5 separate regions of the Homo sapiens genome follow, and regions 1, 2, 3 and 5 are each linked to region 4. The links are contacts of gene promoters, found by promoter capture Hi-C in blood cells and fetal thymus (Javierre and others, 2016). All regions are on one chromosome and are shown on one strand. The core of a region is centred on a gene start or on the middle of the fragment in contact, and the rest is flanking DNA. Distances in the headings are between cores, read along the strand shown. Region 1 has its middle 23 kb from the start of TNFSF15. Region 2 has its middle 4.2 kb from the start of TNFSF15. Region 3 overlaps TNC (tenascin C). Region 4 holds the start of TNFSF8 (TNF superfamily member 8). Region 5 has its middle 85 kb from the start of TNFSF8.

What was found. Contacts are between HindIII fragments. The CHiCAGO score rates a contact against its expected background, and 5 or more counts as called.
Region 1: a contact is called between a fragment that was not itself captured here and the fragment with the promoter of TNFSF8 in region 4, in 3 of 17 cell types (activated CD4 T cells, naive B cells and monocytes). The highest score is 7.8, in activated CD4 T cells.
Region 2: a fragment that was not itself captured here is called in contact with the fragment with the promoter of TNFSF8 in region 4 in 10 of 17 cell types (total B cells, activated CD4 T cells, monocytes and 7 more); the score reaches 9.7 in total B cells.
Region 3: a fragment that was not itself captured here is called in contact with the fragment with the promoter of TNFSF8 in region 4 in 1 of 17 cell types (monocytes); the score reaches 5.3 in monocytes.
Region 5: a fragment that was not itself captured here is called in contact with the fragment with the promoter of TNFSF8 in region 4 in 14 of 17 cell types (activated CD4 T cells, monocytes, naive CD8 T cells and 11 more); the score reaches 27.2 in activated CD4 T cells.

Annotation. Positions count from the first base shown.
Region 1 is chr9:114,827,404-114,831,165 of GRCh38, reverse strand. No RefSeq gene overlaps it. Among named protein-coding and RNA genes, the nearest start is that of TNFSF15, 23 kb to the right of the region's middle. The HindIII fragment of the contact is 1,805 bases long and covers 721-2,525 here.
Region 2 is chr9:114,808,305-114,812,272 of GRCh38, reverse strand. No RefSeq gene overlaps it. Among named protein-coding and RNA genes, the nearest start is that of TNFSF15, 4.2 kb to the right of the region's middle. The HindIII fragment of the contact is 2,743 bases long and covers 618-3,360 here.
Region 3 is chr9:115,031,068-115,034,971 of GRCh38, reverse strand. It overlaps TNC (tenascin C), which reads left to right. Exons shown (of 28, transcript NM_002160.4): 23 at 3,287-3,419. Among named protein-coding and RNA genes, the nearest start is that of TNC, 85 kb to the left of the region's middle. The HindIII fragment of the contact is 1,485 bases long and covers 944-2,428 here.
Region 4 is chr9:114,929,178-114,933,098 of GRCh38, reverse strand. It overlaps TNFSF8 (TNF superfamily member 8), which reads left to right and starts at 2,508. Exons shown (of 4, transcript NM_001244.4): 1 at 2,508-2,990. The coding sequence starts at 2,796. RefSeq lists an enhancer at 2,855-3,414. The HindIII fragment of the contact is 2,687 bases long and covers 1,000-3,686 here.
Region 5 is chr9:115,013,100-115,017,108 of GRCh38, reverse strand. No RefSeq gene overlaps it. Among named protein-coding and RNA genes, the nearest start is that of TNFSF8, 85 kb to the right of the region's middle. RefSeq lists an enhancer at 2,829-3,018. The HindIII fragment of the contact is 6,629 bases long and covers 1-4,009 here.

The DNA.
Region 1 (3,762 bases), core at 374-2,873, 100 kb after region 4:
ACTCTATTTGGATCATTATACAACATAGATATGTGTCAAAGCATCAAATGGCATTTCTATAAATGTGTTCAATTACAATGTGTCAAATAAATAAGTAAATATACTGAGTTTTGTTGGGCAGTAGAATTGTATAATATTAATAGTAAAACTCTCTCTGATGGAGAAGAGTTGGGATCTGCTTGTGGAAGCCAAGGAAAGAGGGATTTCCAAAGTTGTGGATGCAGTCAAGAGCAACAAAAAGGTTAAGAAGTCTGCAGAACACAAGCACTGCCACTCTCTGCATGTAGTTCTAGCTTGAGGAAACAGCTTAATTGGCCTAGATTACTAAAACAGGACCTCTTTTAGGGGCTCTTATCAGGGAGGATCTAGCCATGTCCCTAATGGAAGGGAGAAGGCAGACTGAGGAGGAAAACCAGGTTGGCTCAGATCACATCTGCTTCTGCAGCCCTTCCCTGCCAGGTGGGGACTCTCCATACTCACACCTCGCCAGCTCTGCAGGGTGCTTTCCTTTGTTTCATTTCTAGATTCCCAGCCTGGCATTTTCTAGTGCCAATGTGTCATTCTCTCACCATCCCACTGGAATGAATGCCATCTTCTGGGCATACTTTTCAAGTACAATCAATACCTACCTCCCTTACAAACATCAAGAGCAAGAAAGAAGGCAGACCTGGAAAGCCCAAATCTTCCGATAACTGAAAAACATCCATATTTGAATAAGCTTATGGTCAGACACATTCAACAATCAGGTTTCCCAAGGGACTTTCCTCTGTAGGCTTCCAGCCTTTTCAAGAGGTTTCTACTACCATCACAATATGGGGAATAACTCCAGCTAGCCTCAGGAAATCAACCTTACATAGATTGAAATAACTGCACCCCTTCCATCTGCCAAAAGAGTTCTACTGTCTGTTTCCCAGGCAAAATATAGCCTTCAGGAAATATTGCCATTAGGCAATCAGAGTGTGGCTGCAATGAAGCATTCTAGAATGGCCTGAGATTGCCCTTGAAAAAAAAACTACTACTAGCTTTGCTTCCCCTCCCCAGAGACGAGGATGAAACAATAAATCAGACATTCCCACCCCTCTAACATCAAAATATATTTCACAGAGTATGGAATGAACCCACCTGCATGGATTGGATGGTCTGTGGCAGAGATGATTGCCAAAATTAGGGATTTAAACCACAAACCCAAGCAAAAACCACAAATTGAGAAAAGCATGTGCATACCCCTCTCCCAATCCTCTTGCCCCAGAGGAGGAAACAATCTGTGGACAGTGTCCAGAACCACTTTTCCTTCTCTGCAGAAGTAACAACTTTGACAACTGATAATCACTCTTGTTTGAAAGAGGGGAGCGTAAGGGAGTTTTGCTAACCCCAGAGGCAGAGTTTGCCAGGCCCAGACAAGGTCTGCTGACAGCAGAACACATGATTCTTACCCAGTTTGCTGGGTATTCCAGTCATTCTAGAATACTTTACTGCAACCACACTCAGATTGTCTAATGGCAATATTTCCCAAAGCACATATATTGCCTGGGAAACCGACAATAGAACTCTTTTGGCAGATGGAAGGGGTGCAATTATTTTTACCTATGTAAGGTTGCTTTTCTTAGGCTAGCCAGAGTTATTCCCCATACGGTGATGGTAGTAGATTAATTTTAACAAAAGACGTCTGGTATATCAGCAACGAAAGCACTTCTGGAGAAGGTAACAAATGTGCAGGGTTGGTCTATAGAGTTCTGATGACTTCCTTTTGCATCAGCATTTCAGAAAGAGCACTGATTTTGGATCAGACAGATCTGGCCTCAAAGCCTGACTGGTAAATTCGTTCTGGTAAACATTCTGGTAAATCCCACATTCTGGTAAATTCAGGCAACTCATTCCACCTCTCAGAGCTTCAGATTTCCACCTGTAAAATGGGAACAATAATGTCTTATATGGTTTGTGTGAGACTTTAACAGACAGGGTAAGTAAAATGCCTAATACATCACCTGGTCCATAATGGTCTTAAGTGTCCTATATCATTGCTGGTATTGTCATCACTACCAAGGTGGAGGAAGAGAGGACAAGCAGTGAGTTACCTCCTGATTTCTATTATCTCCATTCTCTAGACACCATTCTGCCTTCTGCCCAAGTTCATGCTGGCATGAAGGAGAACCAGCCTTGGCATTCAGGAGTCTAGAGGCCCAATTACCATAAACCTTGATGTATCTTAGCCCATGGTTGGCTGGTAAATGTTTAATGAAGGAGAAAGAGGACCTTGATTTGTAACTTTTGCTGATTTCCATGGTGTAAATATTCTCTCTGTGGCAAATTTCAAGCTGCCAATGTGATGTCACTAAACACAGAGTGGGAAAGAGATGAGCAACAGCAGAGCATTACATGGCATTTTCCTCTTTCGGATACAATACATAGGAATAACTTCAAGAGTACATTAATTACAGTAATAGTAAAGTCTAGCAAAATGAGAAGTAATGAGTTTTGAATATCCCTTACCTTTGTTTTCAATATAATTCACTTGATTATAAGCTTAAATAATTTTCAGTAATGGTTGTGTTTAACAGCCAGCTCAAAAAATTCCTGAAAATTTAACCAACAAGCCAGTATATGTGGGCTCCAGCTCGCTGCTGATTCTAGCCTGCTGATTTGTACCCACAGTATCAGTATCATCAGAATGGAGTTTGAACATAGGCAACGGGCTTGGGCATTAAAAGATTCCAATGACTTAGGATGGGACTTCCCCAGAATTCAAGACAACGTTCAGGGAGACAAATCCTCTTTTGACTAAAAATCCCTCCTAGAGAAAGTAGCCACCTTGGGGTCCTTAAAGGAGGGGATCACTTGATTTTCAACATTCAGGGCAAATCTAGTGCAAGTCAGCACACTGGAATGCCAGGGACTTAATCTGTAAAGTTGGAGAGGTGAATGGAGAAAAAACCATGGGCCATCATTGTGCCTCTGCCCCCACATGGCTATGTGACTTTAGGCCAGTGACTTCATCTCCCTTAGGCTCGTTTTCATCATCTGCAGAATGGGGACAGCACCTACCTACAAGTGTGGTTATGAGGTTGATGAGATAATGTATTCCAGCTGGCATTGTGAACTGCCAACCATTATAAAAATGTAAGGCATGGCTTCCATGGGGGGAATGAGACAGAAACCTGGAGTGAGGAAGATCTAAGTGGGGAAGGAAGGAGGAAGGAGGTAGTCAGTTTAGATAAAGGACAATGGAAGAAACTGGGAAGAAGAGGTTTGGAGTAGGAGGAGGATAAGGGAAGTGGAGGTAACAGAGGGTAGTACACAGCCCATTGCATTTAAAGTCATTGCCTCAATGTTTTTCCAACCCTTTGGTCACACTCACTGCAGCAGTTTCTTCCTTATTTCTTAACAGCTCCCATGTACATCCTAGTGACTGTGATCATACATTCTAATGATCATGAGTTTATGCTTGTATTCATGCTTTGACATCATCCCTACCGCCAAGAATAGATTCCAGTTTTCTCAGACTCCACCTTGTGCCCCTCCTCCCCACTATGGGCTTCTCCATGAATGGAGCTATCTCAACTGTACTGTTGGCATTGGATTTACCTGGCTACCAGAGCTCCATTTTGACAAAAATCCTTCTTGAGCTCTACCGTGTTTCCGTCTCTGTTTGACATGCAGCTTGAAATACTATTGGGCCTCAAATGAGAAAAACTGAAAATCAATTTCAATCAAGGTGATGGCTTGCCTTTTTCATGCCTTCATTTACTGGGTATTTTTGTGCAA
Region 2 (3,968 bases), core at 740-3,239, 120 kb after region 4:
CAAAGTCATAACTCCAGGCTTTTTCAAGGGAGTACTTATTAGCTTTAAGAGTGGGACCAGGTTCTGCAAGATCTCATGTGTCTGGCAACATCACCTGCCTGGACCAGTGCCAAGAACTATGAAAAAAATTTTAAAAATGTTTCTCTGTGAGGCCAAAATAGACACTGTGAAATCTGTGCACTAATGCTCATCCCATGATTCATGGAAAGTTTACTAGGACCTCATACAGTGCCCACTGACTCCCATTTCTTTTCTGTTTTTGGATCTCAGATACACAGAATTGGAATAATCATCATCCTCAGATTATGTCACATTGTCATCAAGGTTCGTGCCTGGACTTCTTTTATTAAGTCAGCTAGTTAATTAGTTGCAATGTTATAAGTACCTAGTAACCCATGACATAAAATGAAAGCTAGGGCCTGGATGCGGCATCAAATGACACCATATGAAACCCTTTGCCAATCCACCCTCTGATCCCCCTGCTCAGGGTATCCATCACCCAGAGTCCTGTATTCATCTTTGCTTTGCTCTCCATTTCAATGAGTGGTATGTATATATGTCCATATGTGTGTGTGTACCACAAATGCACACATGTTATTTTTAACTTTATGTAAGCTTTGTTATATAAAATCTTTGGAAATTTGCATCTTCACTTAATATTATTGTGTTAAGATTCATCCGCATTGAGGCATGTTGCTGTTGATCCTTTATCTGGATGGCTGAACAATGCCCTATTGTGTGGCTCACCACAGTTTATTTGCTGCCTGCCTGATGACAGGCATCTGGTGTGCATCCAGGTTTGTGCCACTGTGATGACGGTGCTACGGTTAAGCTCCTTGTTCCTCATACATACCTCCTGTTGAACATATGTGAGGGTTTCTTTCGGGTATATGCCTGTAAGTGAAATAGTTGGCTGTCACCCTCTTGAGAATTTTTATTAATCCAAAGGGAAGCTAGATTTAAGCAAAGCAGGAAGAAAGAAAATGATTAAGAAGAAAGGAAAAGAAGAAAGATTTCTCAAAGCCTGATTTTCAGGGCATATTCCGCATAGGAATAACATTGCTCTTTGTGATTCAATAAGTGCAGAAGACTCAATTGTCTTCCGTTTCTTTAGTTTTCTAAAGTTAAAATGTTACTTTTATAATCATAAAAAAACTGTTTTAAAAGTTTAAACTGTATTTCAGAAAGGTTTCTATTCAAAATGTTTGCACTTTTTCTGTTGCCACTTAGAAGACAGTGAGTTAGCCACTGAAAATTTCTATTTCATCAAATAGCTCTTTTCCCAAGAGAACCAGATGGGGGGAGGTCTTGCCAACCATCGATGCCAGTCCAGGAAAGTAGGGCTATGCCCAAATAAGCACCCTTGCAGAAAGGCTGTGGATATTGCTCAAGTCCAAAACCTATCTAGAAGTAATTGCTGAAAAATGAACTTTTTTTACTAACTCAAGCAACAGAGAAAACATCTGCTGACCCAACTCAGCTGCCCTTGCTAATCCCTCATTTGCACATCATGAGGAAATTGCTATGGGACATTCTGAAAAATGTATTTATTAGCAAACAAGGATGTAAGCAAAGATGTGCAGAGATGGGTGGAAGGAACAACCAACAAGCAGAGAGAAGACACAGGGAATCACGAGACCCTGAAAACGTTAATGGTAGAAGCATCCTTAGCAATCACAAAGCTCCCTGTCCCCATTTAACACATGAAGAGAAGAAGGCCTGAAAAGTAGAAAAAATGTAGAGTCATCTTGTCTCAGTAGGAGCAAAAGCTATAAAAGACATCAACTCCAATCATTTCTCCAATAATCAAATTTCCTCTAAAATATTCTCAATCAGTGGCCATTCAGGTCCTGTCCTTATCGTTGAAACAGAGAGCCCCCACCTCTGGAAGCAACATGATTTATCTTTGGACAGTATTGACAAAGTCTTCAAATTGAGCCAAAGTTTGCCTTTCAGTAACTTCTACTTATTGCCTAGTTCAACCCCCTGAATGCCATACAGAATGGTAACAATAATAACAGCAACAGTGATAATAATACCAGTCCGTAAACAAAATCCAAAAATATCTAAAAACTGAAAGCATTTGGCAGCAAAAGCTGACCTGAAAGGGCATGTGTTGTTGGGAATTGTTACCTATCACATTCAGTATGAGTATGTTGGGCTGCAGAATTCTTTCTGTATTTGATTATTAGGTGTTGTTTCAGACCCCACCAAAAGTGTTATGAAATATAAGGTATGTGTAATAGGTTACTCAGGACAACCATATAAAACTATTATTATTGCAGGTCAAAAATGACCAGATATATGCAATTTCAGATGGTTCAACTTAATGCTTTTTGAAACCTGGCTCCAAGGACTTGAGATACAGGATTTGACGGCCTGTAATCTTATGGAGACCCTCCACTTTGAGTATTAACTGTGTGGTAGGTGCCGTGTCAAGCATGACTCTCAAATTAGTATCTCCATGCAAGCCTCTGCCTGGAAGCCCCAAATAACCGTTCATCTACCTATTAATTGCCTCCGCTTGGTCATCTAAAAGTCCCCTTACTTTATTTATCTCAATCTCCGCTCTCAAGCATCTAGCCAAAGCCTGCCCTGCCTCCATTAAAGATGTCTTTACGCACCCCACGCTCAAACAAAAAGCCCTTGACTCAGACTTTTCTCTTCTCTTTCTCTCTCACTCCACATCTAGCATAATAAGAAATTATGTCTGCTCTAGTTTAAAATATTAATATATCCAGGATCCACTATTTCTTGTGACCCTCATTGTCATCACCTCATCCAAGCCACCATCCTGCCTCTCCTGGATGATTGCAGTGGTCTCCAAATGGGTCTCCCAGACTTCAGGCTGTTCTCAACACAGCAAACAGGATGATCTTTTCAAAGTAAAATCAGAGCCTGCCACCTCTCCGCCCATCACCTTCCAAAGAACCCCTACTCCACTCACCACCACCTCTCTTCCCATCAAACTCAGTGAAGAAGAAGCCAAGTCCTACCTGGACCCAGGAGGACACACACGGTCAGCCTCCTCCATCACTCTGACCTTGTGGTCCCCCCACTCCCCCTCACCCACTGCCCCAGCTGACCTGGCCACCTTGCTGCTCTGTAAATACACCATGTACACTGGCTTCAATGCCAGGCTCTCTTCCTCCAGACACCTCCACGTCCTCCCCCACCCTCTTCAAGTCTTCATTCATATGTCTCCTCTCAATGAGGTCTATTCTGACAACTCTATTTTCAATTGCAATTAAGATCATTTATCTCTTTTTTTTTTCTAAATCACTTAAGGCCATCTAATGTACTATAAATTAACTTATTTGTTTTAATTACTGGCCGTCTCCCCCCACCAGAATATAAGCTTCATGAAAGCAGGAGGTTTTGTCTGTTCTTTTCACTGTTTTATCCCCAGTACCTAGAACACTATCTTGCACATACTCAAGTGCGATAACTCATCATTTATCTGTTAAGTGATTTACTTTTTGCCTTTGAATCCACTGAGATTCAAGAAGGAAAAAAGAAGTACCTCCTGGCAGCCAAAATAGATCTCTGTATTATCAAAGAAGTTATACAGATGGCAAATAAGTATGTGAAAAGATGTTCAACATGATTAGCCATTAGGGGAATGCAAATTAAAACCACAGTGAGATACGACCACACACTTATCAGAACGGCAAAAGCAAAATATAGTAAAGGCACCAAATGCTGGAGAGAGGATACAGAGAGGATGCTGGACCTTTCACACATTACTTGTGGGAAGTAAAATGATACAACCACTCTGGTTGTAGGTAACTGCCATACAGTTACCTACAGAATTAATTGTAGATAACTGCTATATTTAGGCAACTGCTTAAATTTTATAGGTAACTGCCATGGTAAAAACATACCATGGTAAAAAACATGGTATGTTTTTACCATGGCAGTTAATTTTACCATGGGAAATTAAACATTTGTTTACCATACAGCCAACA
Region 3 (3,904 bases), core at 437-2,936, 100 kb before region 4:
TACAAGACTTGAGGACATTTTAGGAGCTGGAATCTTGATCCTTTAATATTTTGTTGAACAAAGGCCAAAAGGTTTCTCTGCATGTTTGCCATATGTATTATCTCACAGATGGTATCTTTATATTATATATTGTAATATGTTTCACCGTGTTCTTATGATATCAACTGTTAATACCATTTTTATCCAGTGTTTATATTATTTATATTCGCTACCCAAGAATTTTCTTTCTTTTACCTTTTAATTTGAAATAACTTTAGATCTTCAAACAAGCGAAGGAGATTTCCTAAACTTTACCTTCCAAACTTGTTATTGAATTTTTCATTTTGGTTATCTCACTTTATATTTCCAAGATCTTTTGCTTGTTCTCCACACATTGATCTTTTTCTGGCATTTTGTTTGTGCTTCCTATATCATCATCTCTTTATCTCTAAGAATATGTTGCTGGTATTTTATTCTATATCCTGCACAGTGTTTGTTACAAGTTTCTTTGTTTTGCTGCTGTTGTTGAGTTTGGTTTGGTTTGGGTTTCTGTCTTTCATGTTGGAGACATCCACCCAATGTCTGTTGATCATGGTCTGTCTTTTTGTATTTGAACTAGGAATGAAAGAGCTAATAGGGAGTTAGCTCAGGCAGGGCTTGTCAACTTTGTGGCTCCCTGCAGAATGATTGGGCAAGTACCCACAGTTTTCTTGGGGGACCCCCAAATAACAGTGCCATAAAACCTGGCCTCTCACTGTGTACAAACTTTCATCTTATTATGTTTCCAGTGTAGCACCTCGGCCTCCTTGAAGGCTGAGCCTGGTGGATTTGAATCCGGACTTCCTCTCTGGCTCAACCTTTCCAGAGAGTAAACCTCAGCCTACCATCTGAATGGGAAAGGGCAGTCATTTAGACTGTTGGAGGGAATGAGGAGATCTTAGAGTCTGTTTCTTACAAAAAAGCTTCTAAACAAACCAAACCTTTGTTCAACCACACTCCACATTGGCCTTTAAAGACATCTCTGCTTTTGTACACATTCCTTTACTGAACTTGCTGGACTCTGTGACTTGCACCAAGCAGCCTCTGACTAGCTCTGCCCATGCTCCTTAGTTAACCTCAGCCTTCTTCATTCATTCCCCTCCATGGTCTCTCTACCACTCACTTTCTATCTACCAAGTTTCTGGCACACCTGTTGCTGTCTCCTCTCCCATTCCCCTCATCTTCATGGATTTATACCTTACATTCTCTTGCTCTCTTTTTAGTGGGTTTTAGAAGCAAGTAGAGATGAGTGGCTGTATCCAATCTGTCATATTTAACCAGAACTGGACACATTGCTAATAACTATCATGCCCCTTCCTGGAATTGATATAACAATGAACTATCTCACTGTGTGAGCTGAAGCAAATCCTTTATCTTCTCTGGGTGTCAGTGTTCCCATCTGTAAAATGAATGCCTTGGACTTATCCATCTTTAAGGTCTTCTCCTTGTCAGGCATTCTAGGATTCTGTGTTTACCTGAATCATGAGTCTCATTTTGATCTAGAGTACCCTAATTGCCTAGAAAATGGCTTTGCACAGAAGCCTAGAGAACTGACAGGTAATTGTATTCCTAAGTAATTCAATGAACCCAGCTTTATCCCTGACAGTTGATCTTTCCCCCAGGGACTAGAACTGGGGGGCTGCAAAAAGGCCTCTGGGTATTAAATGAGCACTCATCCCAGTTTACTTTTCTGCATGTCCATTCACCAGCTTTACATGTCTTAGAAAAAAAATCAACCTGGTATAGGAGAAAAGAGTCCTGGACAGGGTGTTGGGAAACCCGCATGCAAGATCATCCTCTGCCTCCAACAATTTATGGAATGAGAGCAAGTCTTTTAGCTTCTCTGAAACTCAATTCTCCCATTGAAGAAAACAGGATAAGGTACCTTCCCAGTTCCCAGGATGCAGGAGAACCTTCCAGGGGCTTCTGCACTGATGCATGACTGCCCAAACTAAGCTGGCTGTTTGCAGGTTGTAGAGAAGATCGTTGTGCTTGGTTTACTAGGAGTGTAGGTTGAATTCCAATCCCAGACACTAAGGTCATTTGCTGAAAAGAATTGGAAGCTAGCAAGAGGGTGTGGAAAGAGGATTTCCTGCAAACTGAAACCAATGACCTCCTCTGTACAGCAGCACAGAGACCAGCCACAGACTACAAGTGTAGTTAGAGTTGGTCAACATCTGTCTGTCATGGATATCTCTGTTCTAGAAGAGAGACATGTGAGGTCAGCTTAAGTTTTAATCCTACCATGCCTATGGGGCTATTATAATCATCTCCTAACTCAAGAGATCCCCAAACTGACTGCACATTCAAATCACTTGGGAAGTTTCTTAAATATAGCCAGGCCCAACTTCTGGCTCTGATGATTCCATCAGTCTGAGATGAGGCCCAGGCATCATATTGTTTTAAAGCTTCTGAGAGTGATAAAGAGCTATATTTAGGGACCACTGACCTAACTGACCTCAAAGTCCCTTACCCTGTGTGATTCATCTTGCTACCAGATTAAGCTTCTTAAAGCACAGCTTGGTTTATGTCATTGGCATGTCCAAACATCTTTCAAGGCTCCCCATTTCTTGTGATGATAAACTTCAAGTTCCAAAGCTTAGCATTTATACCTTACAGGGCTCCTCACTCCGTTTAATGATAAACTTTAAGTTTCAAAGCTTGTCATTTAAAGGCCCTTCATAATCTAGTAACATTTTCCACTGTTCTAACACCTGAAGCTAAGTATGGTTGAGGTCGCTTATTGCCTCCTTATATTATTTCATTTTATGTTTTAAATCTGCTTTATTCAAAGTTTACTGATTTAAATATTAATCTCATCCAAAAAAAAACCCCCTTCACAGAAACATAGAATAATATTTGACCAAATATCTGGGCCCCATGGCTCAGCCAATTTAACACATAAAATTAACCATTACAATCCCATTCTCCCAATATAGTTTGGCAGGGCCTTGGGCAGGTGGTAGCCTTAGCCCTGGAGTCTACAGCAGTGCTCTCATCCTTACCAGATGCGGTCTCTCCCTCCTTATATTATTTTAACTTGCTCTGCACCTTCTGGCCCAAGGACCTTTGCTTGTGCTGTACTCTCCCCATCTCTGATATCTCAGCAGTGCACATGGAGCCTGGTAGAGAGTGGGTACTCAATGAATTCTTGTCCAGTAAGTAAGTGAATGGATGGGTAAATGAACTTATAAATAGAATGACTTCTTATCTATACCCTGAGAATTTCTGTGACCAAAAGCCATTATACTTTTTCTTCTGCTCTTAGGAAGTCATTGTGGGTCCAGATACCACCTCCTACAGCCTGGCAGACCTGAGCCCATCCACCCACTACACAGCCAAGATCCAGGCACTCAATGGGCCCCTGAGGAGCAATATGATCCAGACCATCTTCACCACAAGTAAGGAGGCCCAGGGTGCCATCCAGCCTTGAGATCTAACTTTGACTGAATCAACCCTTGACTTCCCCTTTGACTTCTACTTTAAAATTTTCAAACAAACCTCTGAAAAGAATCGATTCACTGCTACTACTTGGAAGCCTGAGGAAAGCAAATGTGGGAGATTATGAGCATCCCGGTGAAAGGAAAGGAGGAAGCCCATCTGGATTCAGTCCCCATTTCTATCACCTGCTAGGTGTGCCTTAAGAATGCTACTTCCATCCTATAATCTTTAGCTTCTTCGTCTATACAGGGAGATTAATAATAAATCCTCTGTCACCAGGACCTTGCAAGTGTTCATGAGGTATTGCATTTGAACTCCTAGCCCAGTATGTGGCCCATATAATTGTGTGGTCCTTTTATTGTCAGAGTTCAACATGAGCTGAAAGTCTCTTTCTTTCTCCTTCATCATGCCAGTGTTTACAAAACCTGTCCACATTCAAAATCAC
Region 4 (3,921 bases), core at 1,259-3,758:
GTTTTTATATTCCTTATACAGCTTTGCTTCCAGAAAGGATTTAAAACTTACTCAACAAGAAATTCTATAAAGGCTCCTTCCATCTGCACATCGTACAGCTTGAGTAGAAGACAGAAAGAAGCCAGTTAGCACAGGTCATGGATTTCTATGTTGGCCAGGCTAGATTCTAGAACAGCTGGAAAGCAGAGAGGGGCTTAGAGCAATGGGGGTGGGAAATAGGGAGCCACTGAAGGTTTGTGAGTAGAGGAGTGTCACAGCAAAAGAATGAATTGAGCCCACAAACTACTGTACTAGGAACTGATCCGAAAATCTCAACTGCTCAGAAAGTTGAGTAAAAACAAAGGGTGATTTTTCCCCCTTGTCAGCCTTCCCTCCCAGGACATTGTATTGTATGCAAAACGGGTAACTGTAAGACAAACATTTTTTTCCACTGCCCTTCTCAGCCCCACAGGCCTTCAGGAAGACCCGAACTTCAAGCAAAGCCTTTTTATTTTTCAACACCCACAGCTTCCATTCAACAATCAGAAGTTTTCCACTTTGATCAAAGAGGCTGAACAAGAGGGCCAAGGGAGCAGCTGGTTCTCAGCAACTCTGGGCAGACCACAGAGCCCTTGCTACCCACTCACTGTCCGTGCCCACCAGAGGACACAGCCTTCTCCCCAAATCAGCCAGGTACATGCCCCAGAAAACACTGGCTTGCCTCGTTCCCACCTTAATTACCGGACCAAACGAACGTGAACACACTGTTTTCAAAACCAAACTCAATTGGGATCACGGGGGCCTCGGTTTCCTTGATTGTAAAATGGGTATATCGCCCCCCACTCTATTTAGCCCAAGAAAACAATTTATCTCTTGATGTCTCTTTCGTCTCCAGGATCTATGCTTTTACAGACTCACTGGGAGGAAATATCCAGACCAAATCCTAAAGCCTGATCTAATTTGGGAGATGCTCAGAAGTTTTGGTTCTATGCAAGAACAGCAGTGGTAATAATCCAAGCTTGGCTTTAGACACAGGACGTTTCCTTAGGGGCATCTGGGATCTCTGCTGGCTCAAAGTGATGCGCTGCAGACAAAAAGTGAGCAGAAAGGAAAGGAGGTGCTATGCAGAATGAGCTTCTTCCACGGTGATACCAAATGGAGCTTTCAAAGGCCCACATCTGGAGGCAGCAGCTATGCAGTGATTAACATTTTAAACGGTATTTTGAAATGGAGATCATTAGTAACCACAGATGTGATCTGACTCTGTCCCCCAGGTAATCTGTCTATTGTATCTAAATTCCAGACTTAGCCCAGTAGACAGCTTGGGATGTTTAACAGGAATTGTCCAACACCATCCCCAAATCTATTTTTATTCATGGAGTACTCTGACATCATCTCGCTTGGTCTTCCTGATGACTGTAATGCAGATTGGGAACAGAGAAAGCCATAAAGACTTGTATGATGGCCCAAGGCTAAGAAGGGAAAGGGCTGAGACCACACTTCAGGTTTTAGCTTTCAGGTGCAGTGAAGATTGAATGACTTAGCACGAGCTTTCAGCCAGGCAGGCTGCAAAGTGCACCCAAGTTCTTTCAGTGATCGACACTTGCGACTTAGGTTGAGATAGTTTTCATCCTCCCTGAGCCTCAGTTTTCCCATCTGTAAAAAATAAACATTGCCTGCCTCGGAGGGTGGAGGTGGAAGTGGAATGAAGCCACATGTAACTCCTAGCGCTGTGCCTGAGACAGTAGAGGTTCAATTATAGTAGTCACATACACACACAACACATACATACACAAGACACAACACACCACACACAACACATACATACACACCACACACAACACTTACATACGCACCACACTCGGCATGCATTGCAGATCACAAATGCACACCACACACACACTGCATACATATACCATAGAGAACACACAACACCTACACATACCCCCATACCACAAATACACACACACTACATAGTACACCACGCAGAACACACACAGCCCCCATATTCCACACCACACCATCTCACTGCCAATTCCTTCCCCTCTTCATGAGTTTTACGGCAGGTCCAGGTTCATCTGCCAGTTTAACAGATCCCAAAACTTCTGCAGGAGTGTTTGTTCAAAAGATTGATATTTCCAGATTCCTGCTTTCTGACAGTATCTTTGAACCCCAAATTTCATACTGCCATGAGCCAGTCCCCCTTTGGAGAAATATCTCCATTTGTGTGCCCTTTTTCCCCCAGGGAACCTGCAGCATGTCCCTTTTTCAGCAGTAGCCTATCAAACCGAACCCTTTGGAGTTATTACACTGCAGTCCGAGGGATCCGGCCTCCCTGAGACCCAGCAAGGACTCATTATCTGGGGAGGTCTTCTGAGCCACAGGCCTCGCTGAAAGAAGGTGCAGCTTCTTGAACAGGAAGGCGTTTTGTGGCAGAGTCTAAACGAAACAGAAGTTGCTTTGTGTGTGCGCACGCATGCACACACACACACACACACACACACATACACACACACAGTCGGGGAACCGTCATTTTCCTACGCGCCCTCTGACATCAGCCACCTTCTCTGTAGCTAGTTTCTCTGCACACAACTTAATCCCTGGCAATGAAAAATGAACCTCTCCCCCACCCTTGCTGCCGCCTCTCGCCTCACGCCCCCAGAGAAGAGTTTCTCCACCAGGCAGCAGGTGAAGGTTTTTTTCCAAGTCACATGATTCAGGATTCAGGGGGAGAATCCTTCTTGGAACAGAGATGGGCCCAGAACTGAATCAGATGAAGAGAGATAAGGTGTGATGTGGGGAAGACTATATAAAGAATGGACCCAGGGCTGCAGCAAGCACTCAACGGAATGGCCCCTCCTGGAGACACAGCCATGCATGTGCCGGCGGGCTCCGTGGCCAGCCACCTGGGGACCACGAGCCGCAGCTATTTCTATTTGACCACAGCCACTCTGGCTCTGTGCCTTGTCTTCACGGTGGCCACTATTATGGTGTTGGTCGTTCAGAGGACGGTAAGTGGACTCCTCTTCCTCCCTTTCCTTTTCTTGTTGTTTTCCCGAGAGAAAGAGCCCTGGGAACAAATGATATTCGTTTGTTGGTTAAGAGCACAAAATAAAATTAAATAAATAAACTCTCTCTCTCTATATATATATATATACTATAGTATATACTGTATAACGTAATACACTTATGTTACATAATATATATTATATTATACAGTATATATTATATATATATATATATATGAGAAAGGGAGAAAAGAAAGAGGAACTTAACTCTCTAAAATAATTTGGCTTGTTGAGAAAAATATTGTTAGACCATCATCTTAAAACTTTGCAGATCTGTCTGAGCAAAACAGTGGAGGGGAGCTATTGGCCTTTTAAAGTTAAGATTTAAATCTTAATGAGCCAGAGACCCATATCAAGGAAGGAAGCAATAGAGAAACCTGATAACACATTTGCACAAGTTGTTATCATGTCTTCAAGGACTTCAGACTGGATTCTGAGGTTCTATATCCTAAGTCTGAGTGTCCTGGAGGTTTCTGAGGCCTCACCCATTGCCAAGAGTTTTGTTTTTGCTTTTGTTTTATACAAGGAGCTAAGTTTCAGAGGCCAAGGTCTAGAAGGAAAGGAGGCGAAAGAGAAGACCATGGCTTCTTAGAGCTTTGGACATTTTGGTGTTAAAGCCAGCAAGACAAATCGAAAGCTTCCTCTTAAGCCACAACTTTGAAGAAGTTAGGGCGTCACAAAAAAAAAAAAAAAAGAAACAGCACATAGAAGCAGAAAGTTGAAAGGTTTTTAGCACCTGTTCTCTCTGATGTTCCTCACAATACTAAGCAATCGTTGGGTACACACTGTACAGGGTCAGACTGTCTTCGGAGATTTACTTTGAAGTAAATGGTAAGATTTGTTTCTGAAAACAGAAGAGGAGGAGAAAGAGGAA
Region 5 (4,009 bases), core at 391-2,890, 85 kb before region 4:
TTCACAAATGCTTGTGGAGCACCTCCCGTGTGGATTTGTCAGTGAAAAAAAGAGGAAAATATCCCTGTGGTCATAGCGTTTATATTCTAACAAAACACAATGAATGATGAATGTAATAAATGATCAAATTAAATGGTATATTCAAGGGTAATAAGGACAAAGGGGACTAGGGTAAGGGGATAGGGTCACAGTATTCAAAGTAGGGTGGTCACACAGGGTGGGCCTGTGAGAAACCCTCAGGAGGCACAGAAGATGAGCTCAATGAATATTTGTTGCATTGAATTCGTGCTCATCTCTTTCCTTCTGAAGATGGGGAAGCAGCAGTCCAGAGGAGGCTGGGGATCATCCCAGGCACCACAGCAACCAGGCAGGAGATTCTGATGAAAATCCAGGCTGCATACTCCTCTGCAGTGTGGCATGACTGTCTGTTCTCCAGAAGGAGAGACACACCTTGCAGGTTCTTCCTCACTGAGCCTCCTATGACCTGTATGCTCTCAAAACAGCTGGCTACACAGCCCAGTCCTTCCCCATTCTCAGCTTGCCCCACCCAAGCTGGTCTTCCCACCATGCCTTGCCTAAGCCCGGAAAATCCGAGAGCTCCTTGTGGGCTGTCCTCGTCGGTCTCCTTCTAAGATTCTCACTTCTCTTTTCATTTAAAAATCAGTGTTGAGCACCTCCCCGCTTATGCTCAGCACTATGTGAGTGAAACAACCACATTCCCTGCCTCCATGCAGCCTCTGTGCCCCAGAGAGGTCAGTGACAAACACATGATCAGACAAGCAAATGTGTGATTACAAACTGAGGGCTGTGCTTTGGAAGCAAATATAAAAAGCTATGAAGACGTCTAAAGGGGATCTGAGGGGGAAGGCTCTCTGAGGAACAGACATTTGAACCCAGATCCAAAGAGCAAGTAGGAGTTAACCAGGTGAAGGAAGCAGGAGAGGCAGAAGGCAAAAGGCAGGTATCTCTATAGTCCTATGGCTGTCACGCTGTGCACAGAGAAAGCCAGAGGCATAGGTGCAAAAGATGCATTGTGGAAGATGAGGTTTCAGGAGTCAGTAGGAACCCAGCCACGCAGATCTTCCTGGTCCAGAATAAAAATTTTGCTTTTTTTCTTCAGTTCAATGGAAAGCAACTGAGAAGTTTTCAGCAGGAGAGCATTGTGATCACATCTGTTTTTTTAAGCCATCTTTTTTGTTGCATTTGGATTTTGGCTGGGAGGTGCAAAGTGGGAAGAGACCTTTGAGGAGGCTACTGTAGGAATCCAGGTGAAAGGTGATAGAGCCTGGCTAAGTGTGGTGTCGTGGAGACAGAGCTATGGTTCTAAGAGATATTTAGAAAGTAAAATTCATGGGGCTTAGGGTCCCAGAGAGCTCTCTATGTCCCCACCCTTGTTCCTGAGCAGCCCTCAACTCCTATAGTGGATTTTTCCTGGATGTGGGCATCAGTTTTAATTAAGGCAGGCTAGTTAGGGATATGGGAGACTGGATTCAGGGGCCCATTAACTCCTGGAGCACTAGGTTAGGGTGGGGAAGGAATCAGGAAGCCTCCCTCAAGGTGACTGCAGCTAGAAATGAAGACCAGTGGTAAGGCCAAGGGGAGGCTTGTGGATGGACACAAGGGATGACAGTGTGGGGAGCAGAGGTGAGGATGGAGGTAGACCCTTGCCTTGAAGGCTTGGCGTCCTGGAGCCCAGCTGAGAGTTGCCAAGGGTTTTCAGCCCCAGATGGCATCATCAACATTGCTCTTTAGAAAGCCTGCTTCCTCACTAGAGATGCATGTGCCCCTGGCCACCTGTGCCCCCCAGCCTCAATGGGGTACCAGGGGTGCCCTGCATGTGCCTGCTGCCCAGGTTTGGGCTGGCAGGACATATAAGCAACCAGCAGAGGGCTCACTCCCCTCATCCTCCTCCCTCCCTAGGGAACTCCCAGAGGAATTACAATCTCTGTAAAGGAAGTAGAAAAAGGCTTTCTTGAGAATTGTTTCAATCCCACCAGGATGTAACATGGATTTCAACATTTTACAGGAAAATAAAACCACACACATGCAGTCAAAATAAGCAGCTCCGACTGGGCGCAGTACCTCACGCCTGTAATCCCAGCACTTTGGGAGGCTGGGGTGGGCGGATCATTTGAGGTCAGGAGTTCGAGACCAGTCTGGCCAACATGGTGAAACCCCATCTCTACTAAAAATACAAAAATTAGCTGGGCATGGTGGCGCATGCCTGTAATCCCAGCTACTCAGGAGGGTGAGGCAGGAGAATCGCTTGAACCCAAGAGGCAGAGGTTGCAGTGAGCCGAGATAGCACCACTGCACTCCAACCTGGGCAACAGAACGAGACTCTGTCAAGAAAAAAAAAAAAAAAAACAGCTCCCACATTTGCCTAGCACATTTGCCCAGCACATTTGCAATTACAGGTTAAGAAATTGTTTCTCAGAGTAGTGAAATGACTTCCCCCAAGTTCACTCAGCCTCCAAGTGTCAAAGCTGGGTTCTCTGACTCCTTGAGTCACAATGCCTTAAGGAACATCCTTCTGCACAATTATTCTTTCATTCACTCTTCCAATTAGGACACTTGGAGCACCTGCCATTTACTGGTTCCCTCATAACACTTTACAGTTTGCAAAGCCAACGTGTTTATAACAATTTCTTTACAGTCACCATCTTTTTAGTGAGAGCTGAGCTCAAATCCCATGTTTTCCAATTACTGGATCATCTTGGTCTAATTGCTTAATTCTTCTGAGCATCCATCAAAATGATCATGAAGTGTACCTACCCTGATGAGAATCTGTGATAGTTTAAAAGAGAAAACCGACAGCATCTTGCCTGGAGAAAATGCTGTCAACACAGGTTTGTCTCACTAAAAATTGAAAGGCAAACTAAACATTTGGGTAAAAATCCTCAAGTCAACCAGCAGATGGCAGCCTCCACCTGGCTTCGGGAGGGCACTAACCAGGCACTCCTGGTAGATGTGTTGAAGTGGATGGGGCTGATGTCTACCGGACTTCTTAGGCTCATAGACATCTTTAGGTAAACAACTTTGCCTTCATGCTAATCCTTCTCTCAATAAGAGGCTAGAACCCTTCCCAGAAGTGGGAAGGAACTTGGCAGGCCTCCTTTTATGTTCTTGACTCCCCATCTGCTACACAAAAACGAGCACCCTCACCCTACCACCTCACTGATCACCTCTTGCAGGTGTACACTGGGGTGGGGGGACAGGAACATGAGACACAGGGAGTTTCTGGCCTTTGTCCAGTCTCCATTCAGGTTTGGCAAGGACCACCAACCGTTGTCTAACATGTTTAATGCCTCCATTGTATCCATGTCCCATCACTCATTCACCTGATTTGACAGCACCGTATTGTTGGTTGTGAAGGCCCAACATGCACATTTTTTGTTGTTCTGTGCTTGTCCCTTTGGCTTGTTTCTGGCCCCTTAGCAAGAAGGCTTTGATCCTCCTGCCCTGACACTTAACTCACTAGCACAGGGTGAGGCACATCTAAAAATGTGGACTTGTTCCTGTTGCTGTTGCTGTTGCTGTTGTTTTCCTTTACATCTCTGAAGCCTGGTTTAGGTGATGATCCCTGTGGATTATTCTAAGCAGCTTGGGCAATGTTGAGAATAAAGTCAAGGGCCTTGTGTCCCCAGCACTTGCCTCCTAGAGCCAGTCTATGACCCCAAAGAGCTGTAGAGCGGTCCTGTAGGAACACTGAGCTGTGGTCTACTACTCCACTGCTGAACCCCTCCAATGCCGGCCTTACGGCTCAGAGGAAAGTAGCCTGAGACATCACAGTAGCCTTCAAGGCCTATATTCCCTGACCTCAACCCCCCTCTCATGATACTCTAGACACGCTGCCTCCCTGCTGTTTCAAACCCAGCAAGCGCACTCCCACAGCAAACCCTTCTCCTGGAATGCTCTTTCCTCTAACACATGCATGGCTCACTCATTTCTTTCAGCCATCTCCAATGTTATCTTCTCAGCGAGACCATCCTCATCATCCTACATAAAC